Linked DNA regions of Homo sapiens: regions 2, 3 and 4 are each linked to region 1. Evidence: promoter capture Hi-C in human tissues and cell types (Jung and others, 2019). All regions are on one chromosome and are shown on one strand. Each heading gives the region's core, a stretch centred on a gene start or on the middle of the fragment in contact. The rest is flanking DNA. Distances are from core to core; before and after follow the strand shown. Region 1 holds the start of TRMU (tRNA mitochondrial 2-thiouridylase). Region 2 has its middle 18 kb from the start of LINC02925. Region 3 overlaps CELSR1 (cadherin EGF LAG seven-pass G-type receptor 1). Region 4 overlaps PPARA (peroxisome proliferator activated receptor alpha).

Region 1 (2,767 bases), core at 8-2,507:
CTCTCCTTCCATCTCCATCTGGCCAGAACCAGCCCACACTTGCAGGCCTCTGTGATTCTGCTTGCACTGCTGACTGTGCCGGGAGGGCCGCCTCCACCTCCAAGTCTCTGCTTAGTGACATCCTACTCTTCTTTCGACTCAGCTGAGCACCTCCATCTCTAGGATGCTTTCCTCCACTCTCCCTTCCTCACAACTATTTCTGCTTATGGTCCGCCTACCCTTCTCTTTGGCACTTACTGTACCTACCATAATAGCTATGGTTATTAACAATATAAACTAATAGCCACTACTGTTTTCTGCGTACCTCGTATGTGCTGAGCACGTACTCATCAGTATGTACTATGTCATCTAATCCCTCCAGTCACCCCGTGAGGCAGGTGTTAGCCGAATTTTACAGGGGACGGCTTAATTCACTTGCCCAAGGTCAGGAGCCAAAGATGGCGCAAAGCAGAGCTCCACAAACGTGACTCTGTGAATGAGGCCTCCCGCGGGGAGCCACACAGGTGAAGTTAAACAAGTGCTCATTTCAGCGCCGGGCCCGAGGAATGCTAAGCACCCGTGGGGCTCCGTTTAGATGCCGGAAGAAATGCAAATGCTCCTGGAGAAAACTTTGTCCTCCAGCGAGCGGAGAACACAGGAGACGCTGAACAAGCAGACCCGCCGCGCGGCAGTTGTCCAGTCTGCTGAGTGGGGAGGACAAGGACCTCCCACCGGGCGGCCACAGCGTGTGCAGAGGTCAGGCCCCCGGCCCGGCGATCCCAGCTCCCCTCACCAGTGTCCACGGTCTCACAGGTGAATGTGGACGCCGCAGATCCGTGAGAAACCCTTCCCTCCCCACCCCACCCCGGCCCGCCGGCTTCTCACTGTGGGTGGGCGCGCGTGGGTGGAGAGGGGCGCGGAACTGCTCCCAGGTAGTCGGAGCTGCAGTCGCGCACACCTCCGACTACACAGGTGGAGGGCGAGGAGCCTCCGAACCAAAGTCAGAGGACGGGGTATCCTCCTGCCGACCCGCGCGCAACCAGCGGCCCAGGGAGGGAGGAGACGTGCACAACGCCACGACGGACGGGGACAGGTTTCCGGGGACACATTCGCTCGGCGGGGGGCGGGAGCCTCGGACGCCTCACCTCTCCGCCTCAGCAGCAGCGCGGCCACGGCGCTGTCCACGCCGCCGGACAGGGCGCACACGACGTGCCGCAAGGCCTGCATCCGCCAGTCGCCCAACTTCGCCAGCTGCAGCTACCGCCGCTTCCGCGCCTTGCCGGAAGTCCCGCCCCGGCCGTAGGGTCCGCGCTAGTGGCCCGGCCGGAAGCTGCGGCAGCTTACCCGCGTTCCGTCCGGCCTTCCCCTGTCCCGCGGCGGGTTCCCCTGTCTCCGGCCTGCGCTCACCCCTGAGGCTCCACCGACCCGCGGGGCGCCGAGACTCTGTCGGGCCGCGAGGGGCTGGCTTTTTTTTTGAGCCGCCGCCTTGCCCTCCCCACCCGCGCCCCGGCCTCACTGCTCTTCTTCTGCGCTGTAAACCAAAAATAAAATTCTAAGCCCCCCAGCCAGCCATTGGAGGCCTCCTCTCGGCCAAGGGCGTCCTAGAGGGAACCTGAACCGCGAGTTCGGGCTCTGATGGGAAAGGCCGGGTGGGACCCGCCTCACTAGACCCTCCTCCTCCCTTTGGAATTCGGACCAGCATTAACGTCAAAACAGACTTAAGACTGTCTAGGCGGACTCTCCGTAGCAATAGGATACCGACATGACAGATGGCAGGCCCTGAAAGATATCGAAGTATTTTACAGTATTTTAATTTAATTTAATTTTTAATTAATTAAATTTTTTTGAGATGGAGTTTTGCTCTGTCGCAGGCTGGAGTGTAGTGGGCGCGACCTCGGCTCACTGCAACCTTCACCTCCAAGATTCAAGCGATTCTCCTGCCTCAGCCTCCCTAGTAGCTGCGATTACAGGCGCCCGCCACCAAGCCCAGCTAATTTTTGTATTTTTAGTAGAGACGGGGTTTCACCGTATTTGCCAGGCTGGTCTCTCACTCCTGACCTCAAGGGATCCGCCCACCTCAGCCTCCCAAAGTGGCGGGATTACAGGTGTGAGTCACTGCCCCCGGCCCAGAAAATCTTTGAATCCACCTATGACCTGGAAGCCCCACCCCACCTTCGAGTTGTCCCACCTTTCCGGAACCAATGTTACATCTTACATGTATTGATTTATGGCTTATGTCTCCCTAAAACGTACGAAACCAAAAGCTGTAGCACCACCAGTTTGAGCACGTGTTCTCAGGATCTCCTGGGACTATGACATGAATAAATATCTTCAAATCTTTTACAGTTTGACTCCAAGCATACTCAGCACTCAATCCTTAATGTCTGTGAGGTGTGTTGGACAGGGGTTTTGTGTTCTGTCCACTCCTACTCCATGCCCAGAAAAGCCCCTGGCCCAGGGCAGGTGCTTCATAACCTCGCTGAATAAAGGAAGGAGGAGAGAATGGAGGTCATCCCCCAGGGGTGATATTCAAGCTGAGTTCTTCTCTACGAGTTAGCATCTAGACAAGGTCTACCTAAAGCACAGGGAGACTCTGAACGAAAAAGATGTTCATTTGTGAATAGGGCATTGCAATGGGAATATGCATGCCACAATAAGCTATGTGGGTATTCAGGGAAGTAAAGGAAGACAAAGGTTTTTATTTTATTTATTTATTTTTTTGAGACAGTCTCACTTGGTCACTAGGCTGGAGTGCAGTGGCGTGATCTTAGCTCACTGCAACCTCCGC
Region 2 (2,751 bases), core at 1-2,500, 220 kb before region 1:
CAGAGACGGGGTTTCTCCATATTGGGCAGGCTGGTCTGAACTCCTGACCTCAGGTGATTCGCCCACCTCAGCCTCTCAAAATGCTGGGATTACAAGCGTGAGCCACCGCGCCCAGCTGGGTCTGAATCTTTAACAGTTCCCCTCCGCTCCTGGAGCCCCTCCCACAGCCAGCCCTTGCTCACCAGCGGGGGAACCAACAGCCCCTTCCTCACCCTCCTGGGGGTTGGGGTCTCTCTCCACAATACCAGTGCCGGGACGCATCCCTCGTCTTCTCTGCTCCTTTCCGTTGTCCGGAGGCCTAGGCCCAGTCATCCAGCCAGCCTCCACCCAGCTCCTCTCCCTGCACACAAAGACTGACCCCATCAAGCTGCACTTCCTGAAACACACCCACAAACCAGAAACTCAGCCTCCCCTTTGCCCGCAGGATGCCCATGGGCAAAACTGTCACCAAGAGAAGAGAGGAGGGGCCCAAACCGGCTCTGTCTCTGTGGAGAAAGAGCCTGCCTAGGGCTGGACCCTGGTTGTGTGGCTTCAGGTATGAGTCCCTTCCCCTTCCTAGGCCCCAGTCCCCTCACTGCACACCTAGGGTGATGACATGTCATGGCCCAGGGTTAAGAGCACAGACTGGAGTGGGACTCCCTGGGCTTTACTTCTGGCTCTGCTGCACACTGGCTGTGTGACTCTGAATGAGTAACCTAGCCTCTCTGTGCCCGAGTTTCCTTGTCTGTTAATAGGGATCAAACAGAATATAACATCAAGGTCATTAAGAAGAGTCAGTAAATTAATGTTTATAAAGTATTTATTATTTTTATTTTATTTTATTAATTTTTTTAGATAGAGTCTCACTCTGTCACCCAGGCTGGAGTGCAGTGGTACAATCTCGGCTCACTGCAATCTCTGCCTCCTGGATTCAAGTTGAGTGTCATGCCTCAGCCTACTGAGTAGCTGGGATTACAGGCCCTGCCACCACACCCAGCTAATTTTTTATATTTTTGGTAGAGATAGGGTTTCACCATGTTGGCCAGGCTGATCTCGAACTCCTGACCTCAAGTCATCCGCACGCCTTGCCCTCCCAAAGTGCTGGGGTTACAGGTATGAGCCACTGCGCCCAGCCAGAATTATTATTTTTTTTTCTTGCTGATTTGAGTCCCTTGTAGATTCTGCGTATTAGTCCTTTGTCAGATGCATAGTTTGCAAACATTTTCTCCCATTCTCTAAGTTGTCTGTTTACTTTCATGATTATTTCTTCTGCTGTGTAGAAGCTTTCTAGTTTAAGTAGGTCCTGTTTATTTTTGTTTTTGTTGCATTTGCCTTTGGAGCCTTCGTTATAAATATTTAGCCTAGGCCAATGTCCATAAGAGTTTTTCCTAGGGTTCCTTCTAGAATTTTTATGATTTCAGGACTTAGGTTTAAGTATTTAACCCATTGTGAGTTAATTTTTGTATATGGTGAGAAAGAGGGATCCAGCTCCATTCTTCCACATGTGGCTATCCAATTTTCCCAGCACCATTTATTGAATAGAATGTCATTTCCCCAGTTTATGTTTTTGCATACTTTGTGGAAGATCAGTTGGCTGTAAGTGGCTTTATTTCTGGATTCTCTATTCTGTTCTATTGGTCTATATATCTACCTTGATACAGTGCTTGGTACCAGTAGACACTTCCTTGATACTGTCTTGATTACTACATCCTTATAGTATAATTTGAAGTTGGGTAAGGTGATGCCTCCAGATTTGTTTTTTGCTTGGGATTGCTTTGGCTATTCAGGTTCTTTTTTGATGCCATATGAATTTTAAGGTTGTTTTTTCTAATTCTGTGAAGAATGATGTTGGTATTTTGGTTGGAATTGCAGTGACTCTGTAGATTGCTTTGGGCAGTATGGTTACTTTCACAATATTGATTGTTCTAGTCCACGAACATGGGATGTATTGCCATGTGTTTTTGTCATCTATGATTTCTTTCAGCAGTGTTTTATAGTTCTCTTTGTAGAGATCGCTCACCTCCTTGGTTAAGTATATTCCTAAGCATTTTATTTTTTGTGTCTAGGTACTGTAAAAGGGATTGAGTTCAAACTCCTGACCTCAGGTGATCCATCCGCCCCAGCCTCCCAAAGTGCTGGGATTACAGGCGTGGACCAACCTGGTGAAACTCCATCTCTACTAAAAATACAAAAATTAGCCAGGCATGGTGGCGGGTGCCTGTAATCCGAGCTACTCAGGAGGCAGAGGCAGGAGAACTGCTGAACCTGGGAGGCAGAGGTTGCAGTGAGCCGAGATCGCGCCATTGCACTCCAGCCTGGGCAACAAGAGCGAGACTCCATCTCAAAGGTAAAAAAAAAAAAAAAGGGATTGAGTTCTTGTGATTGTCAGCTTGATCATTGCTGGAGTATGGCAATGCTACTGATTTGTGTACATTGATTTTGTAACTTGAGACTTTACTTAATTTATTTATCAAATCTAGGAGTCTTTTGGAGTAATCTTTGGCGTTTTCTAGGTATAAGATCGTATCGTTGGCAAACAGATATAGTTTGACTTCCTCTTTTCCAATTTGGATGCCCTTTCTTTCTTTCTCTGGCCTGATTTCTCTGGCTAGGACTTACCCTATCAGGTGTTCTTGCCAGGTCCTCACTAGGCCCTGAGTAGACAGAGATGAACCAAAGGAAAATACAACATACCTACAAGTAACCACCTCCCACGGCAGCTTGGGGTCCTGGTTCAAAGGGTTGTTAGAGGCAGGATGGAACATTTATGCC
Region 3 (2,700 bases), core at 4-2,503, 170 kb before region 1:
CGGTGGTTTAATAGTTAATGTTAAGGGGGAACAGTTAGAGAGAGTCAGGAGAGTGTGGGGCTATGATCATGGGGTTCATCTGTCACTTGCCTGGTGACCTCAGGTTTGTCACTCAGCTTCTGAGAATCTCGATTTCCCCATGTGACAGTGGGGTGGTGAGACCAATTTCACAGGGATTTGTAAAGCACAAAGCAAAGTATTGGCCATGCCACTGGGGCTTCGGAAGAGTCAGCTTTGTCACTAGTGACTTTGATCACCAGTTTCTCAATAACGTCCCTCTCTCCCTCCCTCCTTTTCTGCGTCTTTCCCTCCCTCTCTTCCCTCCTCTTTCTCCTTTCCTTCCCCTTCCCTCCCCTTTCCCCTTCCCTCTTCTTTCCACTTTACCCTTCCCTCCCCTTCCCTCCCCTTTCCCCTTCCCTCTTCTTTCCACTTTACCCTTCCCTCCCCTTTCCCCTTTCCTCCAACTTTCCCCACCTCCTCTCCCCCTCCCTACCCTCCCCTCTTCCTCCCCTCTTCCTCCCCTCCCCACCCTCCCTTCCCCTTCCCTTCCCTTTCTTTTCTTGAGATGAGGTCTCACTCTGTCACCCAGGCTGGAGTGCAGTGGCACAATCATAGCTCACTGCAGCCCCGACCTCCTGGGCTCAAGTGATCCTCCCACCTCAGCCTCCTGAGTAGCTGGGACTGCAGGCTTGTGCGCCACTGTGCCCAGCTACTTTATTTTTTCTGGAGATGGAGCCTTGCTACATTGCCTGGACTGGTCTCAAAATCCTGGGCTCAAGGGATACTCCTACTTTGGCCTCCCAAGGTGCTGGGGTTACAGGCCTGAACCACCACGCCCAGCCCTGTTTTCTACAGGGCAGTTTTCTGAGTAGTTTATAAAAATGTAATGAGCTTCCTCTGCTCCTTCAGAATGAAGTGAGTCACATATTACTCCCTGGAGGGTGCAGATCAGATGATTTTTCTTTGTTTTCTCTTCAAGACAAGGAAGCCCATGACTGTGCCAGCGGGGGAACTCTTCGGGAATTCTTTTTGGGGAATTACTCTTGGAGTTCATGGAAAGATCCATTCTGCTATTGCTCATCTGAGATGTCAGTGTTGAAGGGAGTGATGTTTGGCATTTAAAAACAAATAACATTTCAGATCTTTGTTGCATTGACTGAAGGAAAAAAAGCACATCATACAGTGTTTTGGCTCACAGCTTGTTTTCAGCTTTCAGGGCTGGATATTTGCGTGTTTCCGTAGGTTCCTATGAGATGCCACTTCACGAAAAGGTCTCCTATTAGCTTATTTAAATGTCTGTTTAAAACTTTTCTTAGTGGGGCAGGGCGCGGTGGCTCACACCTGTAATACCAGCACTCTGGGAGGTCGAGGCGGGTGGATCACCTGAGGTCAGGAATTTGAGACCAGCCTGGCCAACATGGTGAAACCTCGTCTCTACTAAAAATACAAAAATTAGCCCGGCGTGGTGGTGCATGCCTGTAATCCCAGCTACTCTGGAGGTTGAGGCAGGAGAATGGCTTGAATCGGGAGGTGGAAGTTACAGTGAGCCGAGATCACACCACTGCACTCCAGCCAGGGCAACAGAGCGAGACTCTGTCTCAAAAAAAAAAAAAAAAAAAAAAAAATTAGCCGGGCATGATGGCGGGTGCCTGTAAGCCCAGTTACTGGGAGGCTGAGGCAGGAGAATTGCTTGAACCCGGGAGGCGAAGGTTGCGGTGAGCTGAGATCATGCCATTGCACTCTAGCCTGGGTGACAGAGCAAGACTCTGTCTCAATAAAAAATGAAATAAAATAAAATAAAAAATAAAATAAAATAAATAAATAAATAAACTTTTCTTAGTGGAAACATCTTAACATTTCAGATCTTTGGGTCTCTGGAGGGGTGTTAGAAACAGGGTTCTCAGCACTTGGCATGTAAATGGGCTGATTTTCGGGTCCCATCATGGGCGTGCTTACAAGGACAGCTCTGCCCGCAGATGGGGGATGTTCTGAGCCTGAGAGACGCAATGTAGTGGCCTGACCTGCTGCTGGCCTCCCGGGCAGCTCCAGTTGTGGGGACACGGTGGTGAGCTTCATTCTGAAACTGCAGTCAAAGGCTCCCAGGTCACCCAGAAAACAGACCAGATAATTATAATAAAGTAAGAAAAATGGCATCTGACAAAAGGCCTGCAGAGTCATTGTTGTAAACTCCCCCAGAGATCAAAAAACACAGGTGTGGGCTAGCTCGGGCCTCTGTTCTTCTGTGACAAGTTATGGGTGTCATTGACGCCCCCTTTGGAAGCTCCCAGAGCTCCCAGTGGCCTTTGTGCTCAGAGCCCATTCAGCACACCCCAGTCATCTGAATAAGCCCAGAGCCTTGCCATTGTCCCCATGGTTGCCCATCAACCGTTCGCCCTCCTGCACCGACTGCCAGTTTCCATGGTTACCGCCACCGCTGTAAATGTGATCTCTGCGCCATGGGGGAGGGGGCTGTCAGCGGCTCCATATAAAAGGTCATCTCCAGCAGGCAGTTAAAACCTAGCGCGGTGCTGAAAACCGGGCGCCAGGGTTTTGTCGCAGTTATGTCCCTTCCTTGAGTCCTGCAGACACCGTGAGCCCAGCTTTCCTGCTGAGCAATGCTGGGAGGACCAGGGGCTGGGGTGGGATCATGCTGGGAGGACCAGGGGCTGGGGTGGGATCATGCTGGGAGGACCAGGGGCT
Region 4 (2,767 bases), core at 143-2,642, 160 kb after region 1:
ATGTATCTTGATGGTATCAATGTCAGTATCCTGACTGTGATATCGTCCTCTCACTTTGCAAGATGTTACCCTTGGGGAAAACTGGAAAGAGTGCTGGGGATCTCTGTATTATTTCCTAAAACTGCACGTGAGGCCAAGGCGGGCAGATCACTTGAAGTCAGGAATCTGAGACCAGCCTGGCCAACAAGGTGAAACCCCATCTCTACTAAAAATATAAAAACGAGCCAGGTGTGGTGCACGCCTATGAACCCAGCTACTCAGGAGGCTGAGGCAGGAGAATCACTTGAATCCAGGAGACAGAGGTTGCAGTCACCTGAGATTGCACCAGTACACTCCAGCCTGGGTGACAGAATGAGACTCTGTCTCAAAAAAAAAAAAGTAAAAAAAACTACAATTATCCAAAAAATGTTTTAAGTTAATTTTTAAAAGTACTAAAAGGGAGGAAAATTAGGAGTGATTTTTTGTTTGATTGTTTTTTTGATACAGGGTCTTGCTCTGTTGCCCAGGCTAGAGTGCTTTAGTGTGATCATGGTTCACTGCAGCCTCGAACTCCCAGGCTCAAGCAATCCTCCTACCTCAGCCTCCTGAGTAGCTAGGACTACAGGCACGAACCATGATGCCTGGATAATTTTTTAAATTTTTGTAGAGACAGGGTCTCACTATGTTTCCCAGGCTGTTCTCAAACTCCTGAGCTCAGGTGATCCTCCCACCTCGGCTTCCCAAAGTGCTGGGATTACAGGAGTGAGTTACTATGTCTGGCCAACAGTGGTATTTTAAGAACAGGTGATCTGTTCTTCAGGTTTTCTGCTCTGCAGCTTTCAGAATCCAGACATGGTAAACATAGCTAGGATATATAACATAGAAACTGTCTCTTTTATTTATTTGCTTGCCTTTTAACTTTTTATTTGGAAGTACTTTCACTTATAGAAAAGTTGCACCCCCAAAACAGAGTAAAGAACATCCTAACTTTACCCATATTCACTGGTAGTTACCAACTTAACCATCTGCTTTATCATAATTTCCTTCCTTCCTTCCTTCCTTCCTTCTTTCTTTCTTTCTCTCTCTCTTTCTTTCTCCCTCTCTCTCTCTCTCTCTCTCTCTCTCTTTCTTCCTTCTTTCAAGACAGAGTCTTGCTCTGTTGCCAGGCTGCAGTGCAGTGGTGCAATCTCGGCTCACTGTAACCTCTGCCTCCTGGGTTCAAGCAATTCTCCTGCCTCAGCCTCCCGAGTAGCTGGGACTACAGACGTGCACCACCACGCCCAGCTAATTCTTTGTATTTTAGTAGAGAGGGTCTCGATCTCCTGACCTCACAATCCACCCACCTCGGCCTCCCAAAGTGCTGGGATTACAGGCATGAGCCACTGCACCTAGCCCATAATTTCTTTCTTTATAGGTATGTATGTATATATGTGTATGTGTGTGTGTATTTGAGGGTGAGTTGCATGCCTCATGGCCCTTTCTCCTAAATACTAAACTACACGTTTGCTAAGAATGGCAGTGTGCTCCTACACACCACAGAACACTTCGCTTCTGTTAATTTAACAGATACAGTTCAATCTATGATTCGTATTCAAATTTTGTTAATTGACCCAATAATGTCCTTGATAGCATTTTTCCTCCTTCAGTACTGGATGCTGTTCAGAGTCAGGTATTACATTTTATTGTCTTCTCTCTTTTAATCTGAAACATTTCCGCAGCTTTTCTTTGTCTTTTATGATACTGACATTTTTAAGGAATACCATTTCCAAGCTTTCTTCTTCCCCTTGGCAAACAGAATGTAGCAGCTGCCTTAGTACTGACTTATAGTAACTTATATTGTGACAGATATCTGCATAGAAGAATCCACAGTTAATAAGAACCTCTAACTCGAGGTATATCCCATGTCCCATCCTGAAGCTGGGTGCTTAAATAGGCTCCCAGCCTCTCTAACAACTTGTACGCCCTTCATTTTGCCAGCTTGCCAACTGGAAATGTGTCCAAGGCTTTCTTATTTGGAACTAGAGGTTCCCAGAGCTACATTCCTATTCAACACAACAAATAAAAGAAAACTAAAAACATAACTGTTTTGTAAATCCCCAAATAAGAGAGTGAAAAGAACAGCCACAACATCTACCCGATAGCATGACTTTAAGCAACTCAACATAATTCAAACATTTAGCAAACATCGGTTAACAATAAACCAAGTACCTTCTGCAAGAGCTGGTTGCAGGACAAATCCTTTTCTAAAGGGACAAAGATGAATGCAACTTAAAGTGACAAGAACACTAAGGGAGCAGAAGCAAGCCATTTAAGGGTAAAAATGGAATTTTCTGCTATAAAGTAAAGCTCTGCATAAAAATAAGACAGAACAGGAAATCTAGTAAGGGTTTATTCATAAGACCCCATGCTGAGGATTTCAAGGAGACAGTCACGTTTCTGGGTAACTGACTATGGGATTGTCCCTCATGGGGCCAAGTAACCTGTCAAAGCAACGAGGCTTCCTACTCAACAAGCCCTGTGGCCACCCTGCCAGCTGGAGGCTCTATCTGAAGCCTGGAAACAGCTGTCAACATGCCTTGAATCCAACAGGTCCCGATGTGACCTCGGTCTTTTACCTCCGCACAAAGTTACGGCTTATGGCTGTTTGGACAGTCTGGTTTGTCGATCGTTTGGTCGGAAAGTCTGTTTTTTTCTTTTTTGAGATGGGGCCTTGCTCTCTCACCGAGGCTGCAATGCAGTGGCACGATCTCAGCTCACAGCAACATCCACCTCCCAGGTTCAAGTGATT

The links. The method cuts DNA at HindIII sites, captures the fragments that hold promoters and counts their contacts. A contact is called where the count stands out against the background at its distance.
Region 2: a fragment that was not itself captured here is called in contact with the fragment with the promoter of TRMU in region 1 in 3 of the 25 tissues and cell types used here (dorsolateral prefrontal cortex, lymphoblastoid cells and mesendoderm cells).
Region 3: a fragment that was not itself captured here is called in contact with the fragment with the promoter of TRMU in region 1 in 2 of the 25 tissues and cell types used here (IMR-90 fibroblasts and mesendoderm cells).
Region 4: a fragment that was not itself captured here is called in contact with the fragment with the promoter of TRMU in region 1 in 1 of the 25 tissues and cell types used here (mesendoderm cells).

Annotation. Positions count from the first base shown.
Region 1 is chr22:46,334,204-46,336,970 of GRCh38, reverse strand. It overlaps TRMU (tRNA mitochondrial 2-thiouridylase), which reads right to left and starts at 1,257. Exons shown (of 11, transcript NM_018006.5): 1 at 1,125-1,257. The coding sequence starts at 1,206. RefSeq lists a silencer at 810-859 and enhancers at 668-1,167, 1,000-1,219. The HindIII fragment of the contact is 7,028 bases long and covers 1-2,767 here.
Region 2 is chr22:46,558,526-46,561,276 of GRCh38, reverse strand. No RefSeq gene overlaps it. Among named protein-coding and RNA genes, the nearest start is that of LINC02925, 18 kb to the right of the region's middle. The HindIII fragment of the contact is 5,201 bases long and covers 1-2,751 here.
Region 3 is chr22:46,500,125-46,502,824 of GRCh38, reverse strand. All of the region lies in intron 1 of CELSR1 (cadherin EGF LAG seven-pass G-type receptor 1), which reads left to right. Among named protein-coding and RNA genes, the nearest start is that of CELSR1, 36 kb to the left of the region's middle. RefSeq lists an enhancer at 1,507-2,481. The HindIII fragment of the contact is 7,187 bases long and covers 1-2,700 here.
Region 4 is chr22:46,172,529-46,175,295 of GRCh38, reverse strand. All of the region lies in intron 2 of PPARA (peroxisome proliferator activated receptor alpha), which reads right to left. Among named protein-coding and RNA genes, the nearest start is that of PPARA, 23 kb to the right of the region's middle. The HindIII fragment of the contact is 6,276 bases long and covers 1-2,767 here.